4 separate regions of the Homo sapiens genome follow, and regions 1, 2 and 4 are each linked to region 3. Evidence: promoter capture Hi-C in 16 types of primary human blood cells and fetal thymus (Javierre and others, 2016). All regions are on one chromosome and are shown on one strand. Each heading gives the region's core, a stretch centred on a gene start or on the middle of the fragment in contact. The rest is flanking DNA. Distances are from core to core; before and after follow the strand shown.

Region 1 (2,700 bases), core at 165-2,664, 540 kb before region 3:
ACAAGCTATAGAGAAATACCTGAGACTGGGTAATTGATAAAGAAAAGAGGTGTATTTGGCACAGAGTTATGCAACCTGTACAGGAAGCATGATGCTGGCATCTACTTGGCTTCTGGGGAAGCCTCAGGAAACTTACAATTATGGCAGAAGGTGAAGGGGAAGTAGGTGTGGAGGAAGGGGGTGGGGAAGTGCCACACACTTTTAAATGACCAGATCTCATGAGAGCTCACTCACTATCATGAGAACAGCACGGCAGGGGAGATCTACCCACCATGATCTAATCACCTCCCACCAGGCCCCACCTCCAACATTGAGGATTACAATTTGACCTGAGATTTGGACAGGGACACAGATCCAAACCATATCACTTCCCCTTAGTTTCCTTACATTTCCTCTCCTAAGGCAATCCTTGTTAACAGTTTCTTAAGGATCCATGTAGGCACAAATTCCATATTCTAAAGACATGTCTCAACTGATTTGGATGCATTTGGTCCACTAAGCTTGAGGAGCCTCTGATTTAATTCACCCCTCTCATCTTCCTTGAAATTCTTTCATCCTTCAACATCCTTTATGCTGATTGTCGAACATCTCTGATAGTTTGATTCTGTCTTCTTGGTCCACACCTCCTACTTTTTCTGACTGTTTAATGTGGGCATTCCCCCAAACTACTCCCCTTGATCTTCTTTTCTGTCTATATTTTCTTTCTTGACACATCTCTCCAGACCTATGAGTCACTCACAGAATATACTCATATCACTTGCGCCAACATCTCAAGCTAGCCACACACCAGTATTTTTTCTACCAGTTAGACATTTCTGTCTAGTTGTCTGGGAGCACCTCAAATTCAGCACCCAAAATGAACTTACCTTTCTGTTAACAAAACTACTTATGCTTCTCTTTTCCCCATTGTCCTTACTTCTGTTATCATTGACTCTTCCTCTGCCTCTTTTATGTTAATTGCACCTTGAAATGACCCACACTTCTTTTCCCTCCACTTCAGTTTCGTTTGTTACAGCATTTTTTACACTAGCTTCACTTGTGGTTACCACTTCCCTGCCCACTGCTCATAAGCCCCTTGAGGATTCTTCAGGGCAGCAACTATATTTTCTTTATTTCTATGTTCTCGGCACCTCACTCATTCTCTCATAGTAGGTGTTCCATGGATATGTTGGGTCAATGAATATCCGTTAAAGCTCAAATTTTTAACATGGCAGTCGACATCTTCCATTTCTGATTTACCAACCTCTTTAATTTAGATAACTTAATTTACGCCTTGCCACAACCAAACTGAACTATTCACAGCTCTCCTGAATGCACATTGCAATCTTCCTTTTGCACTTCTTTGTTTATGCTTTTCTTTCTGCTTGAAATTCCCATCTGTTCCCTGCCTATCAAAATCCTACAAATCCTTCAAGTCTCAGATCAAATGCCTTATTCTTCCCAAAGCCTTCCCAAATCCTTAAGTCCTGGGTTCCCACAGCGTGTGGATTGCATTTTAGTCTCACTTCTATTCGACTAAATTTATAAAATCATCGGATTTTAGTTGTGGAAGACACTTTAGAGGTTTGGATTTTAGTTGTGGAAGACACTTTAGAGGTTACCTAAGACAACCCTGTATTTTACAGCTAAGGGAACTGAGACCCAGAAAGAGTAAATGTCTTGCTCAAGATTAAATATCAGCCAGCGACCAACGGAGCCAGACCTAGAACCCAACTCTCCTGAATTGTTTTCCAGAGCTATGCTGCCTATGCAATTGTTTTAGCTTCTCTTCCGGACCATTAGTGCCAAAAGTCAAGGATTAAATTTTATTCAGCTTTAATTCCTTATAATATCCAATATAGCACCTTTCATATAGTAGGTTCACAAAAGCTATACTGGATTGAAATGAACATTTAACGTACTGGTTAATAGATATTTTTAGCCAGAGTTCCCTGGAAAACAGAGTGTGAGGCAGAGATTACTTGCTGATGTGAGAGTAAGGAGAAAGAAAAGGCAGGAAGGGCTAAGGGACAATGCAGTGACTACTGCTTCCCAGCGAACCTGGAAACCCAGCAGGGAATGTGGCAAGTGGTCTGTACATCCAAGCAAGGTATCTGTGGCCAGGCTGTATGGACCTATGCCTTGGGGCAGCTCATAATAAGCAACTTACTGTCCCCATATCGTCTCATATCTTTTTTCCCACCGATCAAAGTTACTCCCCTGCACTTCCAGTTCTGTCATCTGGCCCCTTTGATGGCTCTTTGGAAAGCCAGATTCCATGCCCTGCGGGAAGGTTCCTCGGTTGAGTCCAGAGTGGAAGAGGATGCAAATAAGATATGTCCAATAAAAAAAGCTTTGAACCTACACCTGTTACTTAACCCTGTTACTTGAGATTGTTCCTATTTTGGTTTTTGAAATCCATTGATGTTGGAAACACAAAACTGGTGATGGCTTTCTTTAAGAGACAGGCTGAAACAGAATTTTTTTTTTTTACACGGAGTTTCGCTCTTGTTGCCCAGGCTGGAGCGCAATGGCACAGTCTCGGCTTACCGCAACCTCCGCCTCCTGGGTTCAAGCGATTCTCCTGCCTCAGCCTTCCCAGTAGCTGGGATTACAGGTGCCCACCACCACTCCTGGCTAATTTTTATATCGTTAGTAGAGACGGGGTTTCACCATGTTGGCCAGGCTGGTCTCGAACTCCTGACCTCAGGTGATCCACCC
Region 2 (2,700 bases), core at 32-2,531, 610 kb before region 3:
CTGAAACAAATGCCCATATGCAAACTTGAATACTCCAACTAGAGAGAGTAAAACTGAATTCAACCTTTGTAATAAGAGGATTGGCAATGAGCCTTTACAAACTCAAGTCCACCTCTTTTGTTATTTGACCTAAAGAGCCATCAGATTGTCTTCATTATAATGATGCACATTTGTATGTATGAGAGCTGTAATTTATTGATTCTCAAACCTCTTTTCCTCTGAGCCAGTTTAAAACAATTAGGATTTGCAAGCTGTTCCATAAAAGATAAGCACCCAGCATCAGGGGTGATATTTCACAAAGACTGACTAGTGCATGTTAAGTAGGTGATTGCTTCTGTGGCCTCCAAGTGCCTCAGCTGTCCCTGCCCAAGGTAATCATCCTCAAAGAAGATGCTCAAGGTAATTGTGTTGATACTTAGGGGGGTAAGGGAAAATTGGGAGTGTACTTTACACTTAATCATTAACAAAATTCAAATTTTATGTATTTCTCACTGTTTCTGATATGGTTAGGCTTTGCGTCCCCACACAAATCTCATCTTAAATTGTAATCCCCATAATCCCCATGCATTTAGTGAGAGACCTGATGGGAGGTGACAGGATCATGGAGGCAGTTTCCTCCATGCTGTTCTCATGATAGTGAGTTCTCACAAGATCTGATGGTTTTATAAGGGGCTCTTCCCTCTTCGCTCCTCACTCTTCTCTCTCCTGCCACCATATGAGAAGGTCCAAGCTTGCTTCCCCTTCACCTTCCACCATGATTGTAAGTTTCCTGAGGTCTCCCCAGTCATGCGGAACTGTGAGTCAATTAAACCTCTTTGTTTATAAATTACCCAATCTCATGTCATATCTTTATAGCAGTATGAAAATGAACTAAGAGTTTCAATAGCTGTAGGACTTGAGAGCTTTGCCTTATCCTTCTAGTGAAAAAGTTAATAAGCCAGGAGACATTACCATGCAGAAACAATTAACAATTGTACCTGTCTTCTTTACATCAGTGCTCTTCTGTAACTTCATCTCCTCAAAGTCTTTTGGTAAATTTATAAAAGATCAAAATCAACTGTCCAGTCCACCAGTCAGTTCTGTTATGTTAGTGAACATAATACATTAGGAAACAGAATCAGATACTTAAATTGATTTTTCATCATTTAATGAGTTGTCACTACATTAGAAATGAAAGATGAAAGTAAATAAATAAGTCATAGTCTTGATGGGAGAGAAGGACATTTAAGTGTATTATAAACGGTGAGCTAAGTAATACAACAAAATCCTTGGGGAGTCAGGTTAGGATTTTTCCACTCATCTTGAAGGATGCACATAAGTTTGACAGGTGGATGAGACAAGGAAATAGGATCCACTTAAAACCTGTCTAGAGAAAAGTAGACAGGATCCAAATAAGCTGAGCTCTTGCATCCTTCTACCAGGGAAGTTCTGCCCTCGTCTGATTTTCATTCTATGGTTTCATGGGGGTTTTTTTTAATGATTCTACTATTTTCAAAAGAAAATAAAAACATTTGAAAGCCACTACTATAACTAAAGAAAAAAAACTGAAGGATCCTGAGTGGGGAGTGACATGGTAATAAGCACATCAACAGTAGAACAGCTGGGAGGCTGTTGCAATCATTAGGTAATGAATGGTGAGCACCTAAGACAATGGCAGTGGAGATGAAGTATAGCAGGGATGAATTAACTCTGATGGCAAGGTAAAAGAGTAAAAGATGAATCACAAGTTTCTGGTTTTGGTAGCTGGATGGATCCTGAACTATTAAACTGAGCAAAGAAATCAATGAAAAGAAAGAGCTTTTAGGAGAACATATGTTCTAAATTGAACTTGTCTAAGCTTCAATTAGAAAGAGAGGATCAATTTGTGTTTCATGGGAGGAAATATCAAACTAAAGATGTCTAATATGCAACCGGATATGTGAGTCTAAGGAAATATTTGATAGTCATCAGTATAGGGGTGGATAAGACCACCAAGAAAAAAAATGCACAGTGAGAAAAGAAGTAGAACCAAAGAAAACCCCGCAAGAACTCCAACATACAAAAGGCAGACAGAGGAGGTGGCCAATGAGATTGAGAAGAAACATGAGAAGTAGGTGAAAAACTAGGGGAAATTGTACAACAGAAGTTATGAAAAGAAGGGTTTCAAAAAAGTGAGAAAAAAACTGTTAGAATTTCCCAGTAATCAATGAATTGCCTTTCAACTCCAAATCCATCCTTCATTGTCTGCTCTTTGCAAACAGAGCTGAGGCCTTTAAATATTTCTCCTTTGTAGCTAGTGTGATGTTAAACTTTGTCATAGAAAGTGTTGGAAGGGTTTTTTGTTTTTTTGGTTTTTTTTTTCTCCAAGATAGTGGAATGGAGGCATTATTGGCATGCCTCTCCCACTGGGATAAACAAAATAGTGTGTAGAAAGTCATGCTATGAACTTTCTTCCAAGAAGCAACACAGGAACTTAAAAAACACTGAAAGAAACCACAAACCCTTTGAAAGAAGCAGTGGGCAGTAGTCTACATGATAAACCAGGAGGAAAACTGGGAGTTGCCAGAGCATGAGTGGGGAGGAGAGACTGCCTCCATGATACACTCTCCCACTGGGGAGCCGAGCAATCCAGGCCACAGGGGAACACCTTAACCCTACCTAGCGCTGGTGCTACTTAGTGAGCAGTGAGGTTTTATGAAAAGGAGCAGCATCGAACCGTGT
Region 3 (2,700 bases), core at 169-2,668:
AACTGCTAAAAGTGCTTCGAGAGTTAAGTATAGTCTAAAGATCTGGTCATTAACTCAAACCATCACTACTACTGGAGGGAGGGGAGTGGACCTGAAAGAATGATGTTGGCAGTAAAGTAATTAGCATAGGGTTGGTGCTTTTGAAATGGTATCTCAAACCACATCATGGATAGAATTTAGGTTTAAGCCTCTTATTTTAGAAGCAGAATGACGTTATGGCATTGATTTACAACTAGGACAGGTAATTTGGGGATTCAGATAACCATCTGGGAAATTTTCTGTTAAAAAAAAGCTGACATTTATTAAAAAAAGAAAAAGCTGACATTTATACTCCGTGTTGTCCCCCCAAAACGTCAAGCCACAGAACACCTGTCCTGTTAACTGAAACTGATTAAAATTCCAAAGTTTTACTGTACTAATTTTTATTTATCAACACTTAGAAACACGAAGTTTTCATGAACACTCTCAAAATGGAAATTTTCAAATGTAGGCAGATTAAAACATTAAAAAAGGGGGAAAAAAGCAGAACCAGAATAAACATTAGCTAACTGGAAAATCAATTCAAAAGCACACAAATTTCTGTATCTATATAAAACGCATCTTATAAGAACCAAGATTTTCCCAAACATCATAAAATGACTGTCAACAAACATGGGGCAACTCAGAAACACTGTGACAGGTCACCGCTTTCTCAGGAAGGTTTCAAAAAAGTAAAAAGTGGCTACGATGAGATCAAAAGTCTTCGTTTTTAAACAGACAGACCAGGGACCATCTCAGGTGTTAAGCAAACTACTGTCAACATCCTGGTCTGGATGGATCCTCCTCTGCCCCAAAGTGACAGCTCCAGGTTTGTCAATTATTTAACTTACAATTCCCAAGCCCAGAGTTCTAGACCAGACCCTTCCTCTACCCCAGGGTCGAGGAAGCTCCACTCGGGCTCCTGTATCAGGATTCATTCCTTTGGAGTCAATTCCGCGTTCGTGAGAAGAGTCGCGCAAAGTTTGTTACGTGGGAGAGAGGTGTGGGCAGGGTGACCGCCCCTTCTTTTTCCACCCCACTCCACCTTCCTAAATAGCCCCTTTGGCGCAGGCCAAGCAAAGCCAAAGAGCGAGTGACAGCCCAGTGCGAGATGTGCCCAGGGAGAACGGGGTCCCGAGCCTGGAGTCCCCACGGCCCCGCCGGCTGTAGAGGCTGGGGGGCGGAGGCTCTGGGCCTTCAGCCCGAGGGGGCGGATACTGACCCGAGGACGCCGAGGCCAAGCTCAGCAGCACCGCACACAGCAGCAGCGTCAGCCCTATCCGGACCCGCATCCTCCTCTCGGGGCCGGTGCCAACCCCTAGAGCTGTCGCCTTCGCCTCTGCCACCACGGACTCAGCCACCACCGCCGCCTCGCCGCTGCTCTTCCTGCTCTAGTCTCCTTCCTCCGCCCCTTCCCAGGCTTCCCTGACCCAGCGCGCAGCCAATCCCCGCCCGCCGTCGCGGGCTTCTGGTCCAATCACCATGGTCTCCCCGCCCACCCCCATTGCTCCGCCCCGGGGGTCATTCATTGGCCAATCATTGTACGAAGCTCCCACACCAGCTTTCTCGGTTGGACCACGACTCACGGACATGGCCCCAGCTAATTGGTAGCCCCTGGGTTCAACCGGAATCAGCGCGTGAGTCCAAGACTGGGAGAAAGAGGCTCATCCGAGACTACAATTCCCAGAATGCGCTTCATGTGATTAACTCGGGGGGTGCTCTTGGGAAACGTAGTCCATCGTAGGGCAAGATTTACAAGTGCGGGTGACTGTTGAAGTTAGAATTTAACTAACACCTGGGCTAAATATTAACTCAAGGCTATGGATTCACAAGCCTTTTTAAATTGACCCAAAATAAATATTAAGGAATAATTTTAAGAACTTGTAATGTGTTTAGCATCTTTTCCTGTTTTATTTAAAAAATTTAAATTGGGCATAGTGATAAGAGCACTGAGAAAAATGCCACAGCTAGTTGAATTTGAGGTGTTTTTTAAAACTTAGATAAAACAGTACCGTGAAGTACGGAAACCAGGGTGCAACTCAGTACCTGTCCTCCTTTCTCCGACAAAACAAAAGGAAATAAATCCGCTCGGCACAGATTATCTCAATACAGTATTTATTTTCACTAGGTTCACCAGACAATAATCATAAAGAAAATGTGCCAACAGCTTTGAAAAATTATTTTAAACACTTGTCCTCATCCTTCTCCTCTTGTGAGTTGCATTGTTCTCTTCTTTCCTAACTAAAGTCAGGAGACCAGGTTCACGTGTGTGGAGGTAGAGGTGATAGTGATTGCATCGCAGGCACGGAAATACTCTATGTAATAAGCACGAAATCCAGGCATGTTCCAACTGAGTAGCAGAGCAGTGACTTGGTGTGCCTGCCCTTTCTTTTCTCAAACCGTGTCATTCTGCTTTCCCTGTCATCCACCCACAGTCAGCTCTAAGGCCTAGAACCTAGTCCAGCCAAGTGAAGGACTTTGGAAAAGTCTCTGCTGGCCATGTGTCTTAACACTTCTGGGCATTTGTCTTCCTTCCTTTTTTTTTTTGTTTTTTGTTTTTTGTTTTTTGAGATACAGCCTTTTATTTTCAGGAAGATGGTAAAAAACCAACCACTGTTTCTCATTCACATCGGAGGAGATGAAGGAAAGAATTATCTCCTCCAAAAACTTGTCTTTTCAGCT
Region 4 (2,875 bases), core at 39-2,538, 560 kb before region 3:
ACCAAGGGTGCAGCAATGGGCTATACTGCTGAAAGGTTGGTCATTTACAGGAGAAGTATCTTGATTAGACTTGATGAAAAGGAGCCCAAGCCATTGGGTCCATGCTTGGCTTCCATTCCTGTCACCATGACCACTTCATTCATGTTCATTTCTCCAAAACTGGATGGCATTTATAAAATGAGTCATCTAGTCTACCTGGGTGTTGAGATTCACCGCAAACCAGAGTAATCAGTGGATACTCTCTGATGAGCATTAACGTGAGACACAAAGGTCCACAGAATTTGTTCCCACCCCCATAGATATAGCCATATTTGTTTCCTAGACTTTCTTGTTCTCTGTTTTCCAATAGTATTCTTTCTAGGCCAGTGGTCAACCAGGTAAATTACTTGCTACTTCTTGGTATTCCATGTATACCCTTGCCACGGTTCTTTCTCCCTTCATACAAAAAGAATGATTGCTATAATGCTCACAGATGAACTGACTGTGAAGATTTCCCTTCACCACTATCCTTTAGGGCCACCCTTGAGTGGGGCTGTAATGCAGCAGTAGTTCATTTTTTTTGGCTGGCATTAGCTTGTGCCAATCTGTAAAGCAGACACCAACCTATGAACTCCATCAAGTGGTCATATGGAGCTCTCCATGAAGCCAATTTCAGTGAGAGTGCAGCAGAAATAAGTGAAGTGGGAGTCTAGGCCACCTATTCATGAATTTACCTTCCCTTTCTAGACTTTCTTGATCCAGAATGTAAAATTTCTATCATAAAATCAATTGCTGCTGTGCTCACCTTATTTTATGTAGTAGAACTGGCAATACCCAATTCACAATGGGCAGCTGTAGTCACAGAGTCACTTAGTGTCCCATTGAAGAGATCTCAGTCTCTACTAGGGCAGAATAGCATGTCAGGAATTATTTTCCTCATAAAGGGTATTTCTGTCCTTCAGAAGGCAGATCCTTGCTCCAAAACTTTAAGAGCCTGAGCTTTCATTCTCTTCTTGGGACCTGCTGGCGAGTCCACAGAATATCCTTGTCCAGGATGGATATCTGTAGTGTTGTAAGACCTGCTGGGCTGGGCTGTATGGCCCACATGGCAGGGAAGCTGGCATTTCAGCCTGAATCTGTTATAGACTCTTGTAGGTCCTACCTGAAACTGGCAGCCTTCTGAGTTATCTGATAAATGGGAAAATGGGTTACACTGCTGCCAAAAGCCAAGACGCCCAGCAAGTGCTGTACTTCTTTGTAAAAGGTAGAAAGGGCAAGATACAACTGTATGTCCTATACCTTAGAAGGGATTTTTTTGTGAGACAGGGTCTCACTCTGTCACCCAGACTGCAGTGCAGCAGTAGTTCATTTTTTGGCTGGCATTAGCTTGGCTTGTGGCAACCTCTGCCTCCAAGGCCCAAGCAATTACCCTGCCTCAGCCTCCCAAGTAGCTGGGATTACAGGCACATGCCACTACTGCCCGGCTAATTTTTGTATTTTTAGTAGAGACGGGTGGCCAGGTTGGTCTTGAACTCCTGACCTCAAATGACCCACCCACCTCGGCCTCCCAAAGTGCTGGGATTACAAGCGTGAGCCACCATACCTGGCCAGAAGGGATTTTTTAGAATGCCGCAGACTAAGCATGTTGCTAATGGAAGAGGTCCCTGAATCTTTGTGGGATTTATCTGCTGCCCCCAACCTTCAGATTTCTTACTAGACTAGCTAGGCTTCTTTCTACTTTTTGCCCACCAACTCTAATTAGCATATCATCAGGTAGCAGACCAGTATGATGATGTGCGTGATGTCCAGATTATCCGTCCCCACAAACTCTTATGAAATGGAACCCCTTGGGCAAAGCAGTGAATTGGTATTGCTATTGTTCCTAGATAAAGGTTTACTACTTTTGATTCTCTCTATTGATAGGAATCAAGAAGAGAACACATTCACCAGATTGATAATCACATATAAAGTGCTACAGGCTGTGCTGATGTGTTCCAGTGAAGACATATCTGGCACAGCAGCTATGATAGAACCTACCTATTGGTTAAGTTTGTTAAAGTGCATTGTCATTCACCTTAATCTATTTGTTTGGGGTTTTTGTTGGTTTTGTTTCTTACAGGGGGCAGATAGGTGAATTGAAAGGATATGAAGCACCACCATTCTGCATCCTTTAAGTCTTTCAAGTTGACACTAATATCTGCAATTTATCCTTGGACATACTCCTGTCAGTATAAGCTCAAACCTTGTATCCAATGATCTTCAAGAAGCCTTGGATTTCTGTTTACCAGTTGACAGTTACTTTGGCAACTGGCCACAGGTCCCTTTTAGGAATGATTGGGGGACAGTCACCAATAATACTTGTAGTGGTATACACTTTCCCTACACTTCCCTAGGGGGATCCAGCAACACTTTTAATCAATGAATTCCTGGTTCCTGAGACATTAAAGTTTTAAAATATGTGCCTCTTAAGATGATGAAATATAGTAACTTGATGTGGTTACTATACACAGTACTAGAGGGAAGAATTTTCCATAACACAAATGTTTAGATTTAAATTCATGCCTTGAAGCCAGATAAATGAAGTATAAGCTATAATTACAAAACACCTAGTTCTTCAGTGTTTGGATTTATGAAAATTGCCATGATTGTTATCTATTGTGAGTTATTAATCCAAGTTACTTTTATTACATTTTAACAGTTTTAGCTATAACATAAATTCCATGGGTTTTCGTTTTTGTTTTTTGTACTACCTTAAAAAAACCTATCATTGTTCTGTGGGGTTTTTTTTGCTCAGTTATGTGTTTGTATCAGCTTTATGCCCAGACCCATACTATATGTCTTCACATATAATATCTCAGTGTTCACAGTGGTCTTCCTTGGGAGGTGTTTGACTCTC

The links. Contacts are between HindIII fragments. The CHiCAGO score rates a contact against its expected background, and 5 or more counts as called.
Region 1: a contact is called between a fragment that was not itself captured here and the fragment with the promoter of SEL1L in region 3, in 1 of 17 cell types (total CD4 T cells). The highest score is 6.8, in total CD4 T cells.
Region 2: a contact is called between a fragment that was not itself captured here and the fragment with the promoter of SEL1L in region 3, in 1 of 17 cell types (naive CD8 T cells). The highest score is 6.1, in naive CD8 T cells.
Region 4: a contact is called between a fragment that was not itself captured here and the fragment with the promoter of SEL1L in region 3, in 2 of 17 cell types (total CD8 T cells and total CD4 T cells). The highest score is 7.0, in total CD8 T cells.

What each region holds. Positions count from the first base shown.
Region 1 is chr14:80,988,202-80,990,901 of GRCh38, forward strand. All of the region lies in intron 1 of TSHR (thyroid stimulating hormone receptor), which reads left to right. Among named protein-coding and RNA genes, the nearest start is that of TSHR, 34 kb to the left of the region's middle. The HindIII fragment of the contact is 1,832 bases long and covers 499-2,330 here.
Region 2 is chr14:80,923,268-80,925,967 of GRCh38, forward strand. All of the region lies in intron 2 of CEP128 (centrosomal protein 128), which reads right to left. Among named protein-coding and RNA genes, the nearest start is that of CEP128, 17 kb to the right of the region's middle. The HindIII fragment of the contact is 1,107 bases long and covers 729-1,835 here.
Region 3 is chr14:81,532,435-81,535,134 of GRCh38, forward strand. SEL1L (SEL1L adaptor subunit of SYVN1 ubiquitin ligase) reads right to left here and starts at 1,419. Exons shown (of 21, transcript NM_005065.6): 1 at 1,241-1,419. The coding sequence starts at 1,310. RefSeq lists an enhancer at 1,207-1,706 and a silencer at 1,423-1,542. The HindIII fragment of the contact is 11,079 bases long and covers 1-2,700 here.
Region 4 is chr14:80,969,536-80,972,410 of GRCh38, forward strand. All of the region lies in intron 1 of TSHR (thyroid stimulating hormone receptor), which reads left to right. Among named protein-coding and RNA genes, the nearest start is that of TSHR, 15 kb to the left of the region's middle. The HindIII fragment of the contact is 4,350 bases long and covers 1-2,875 here.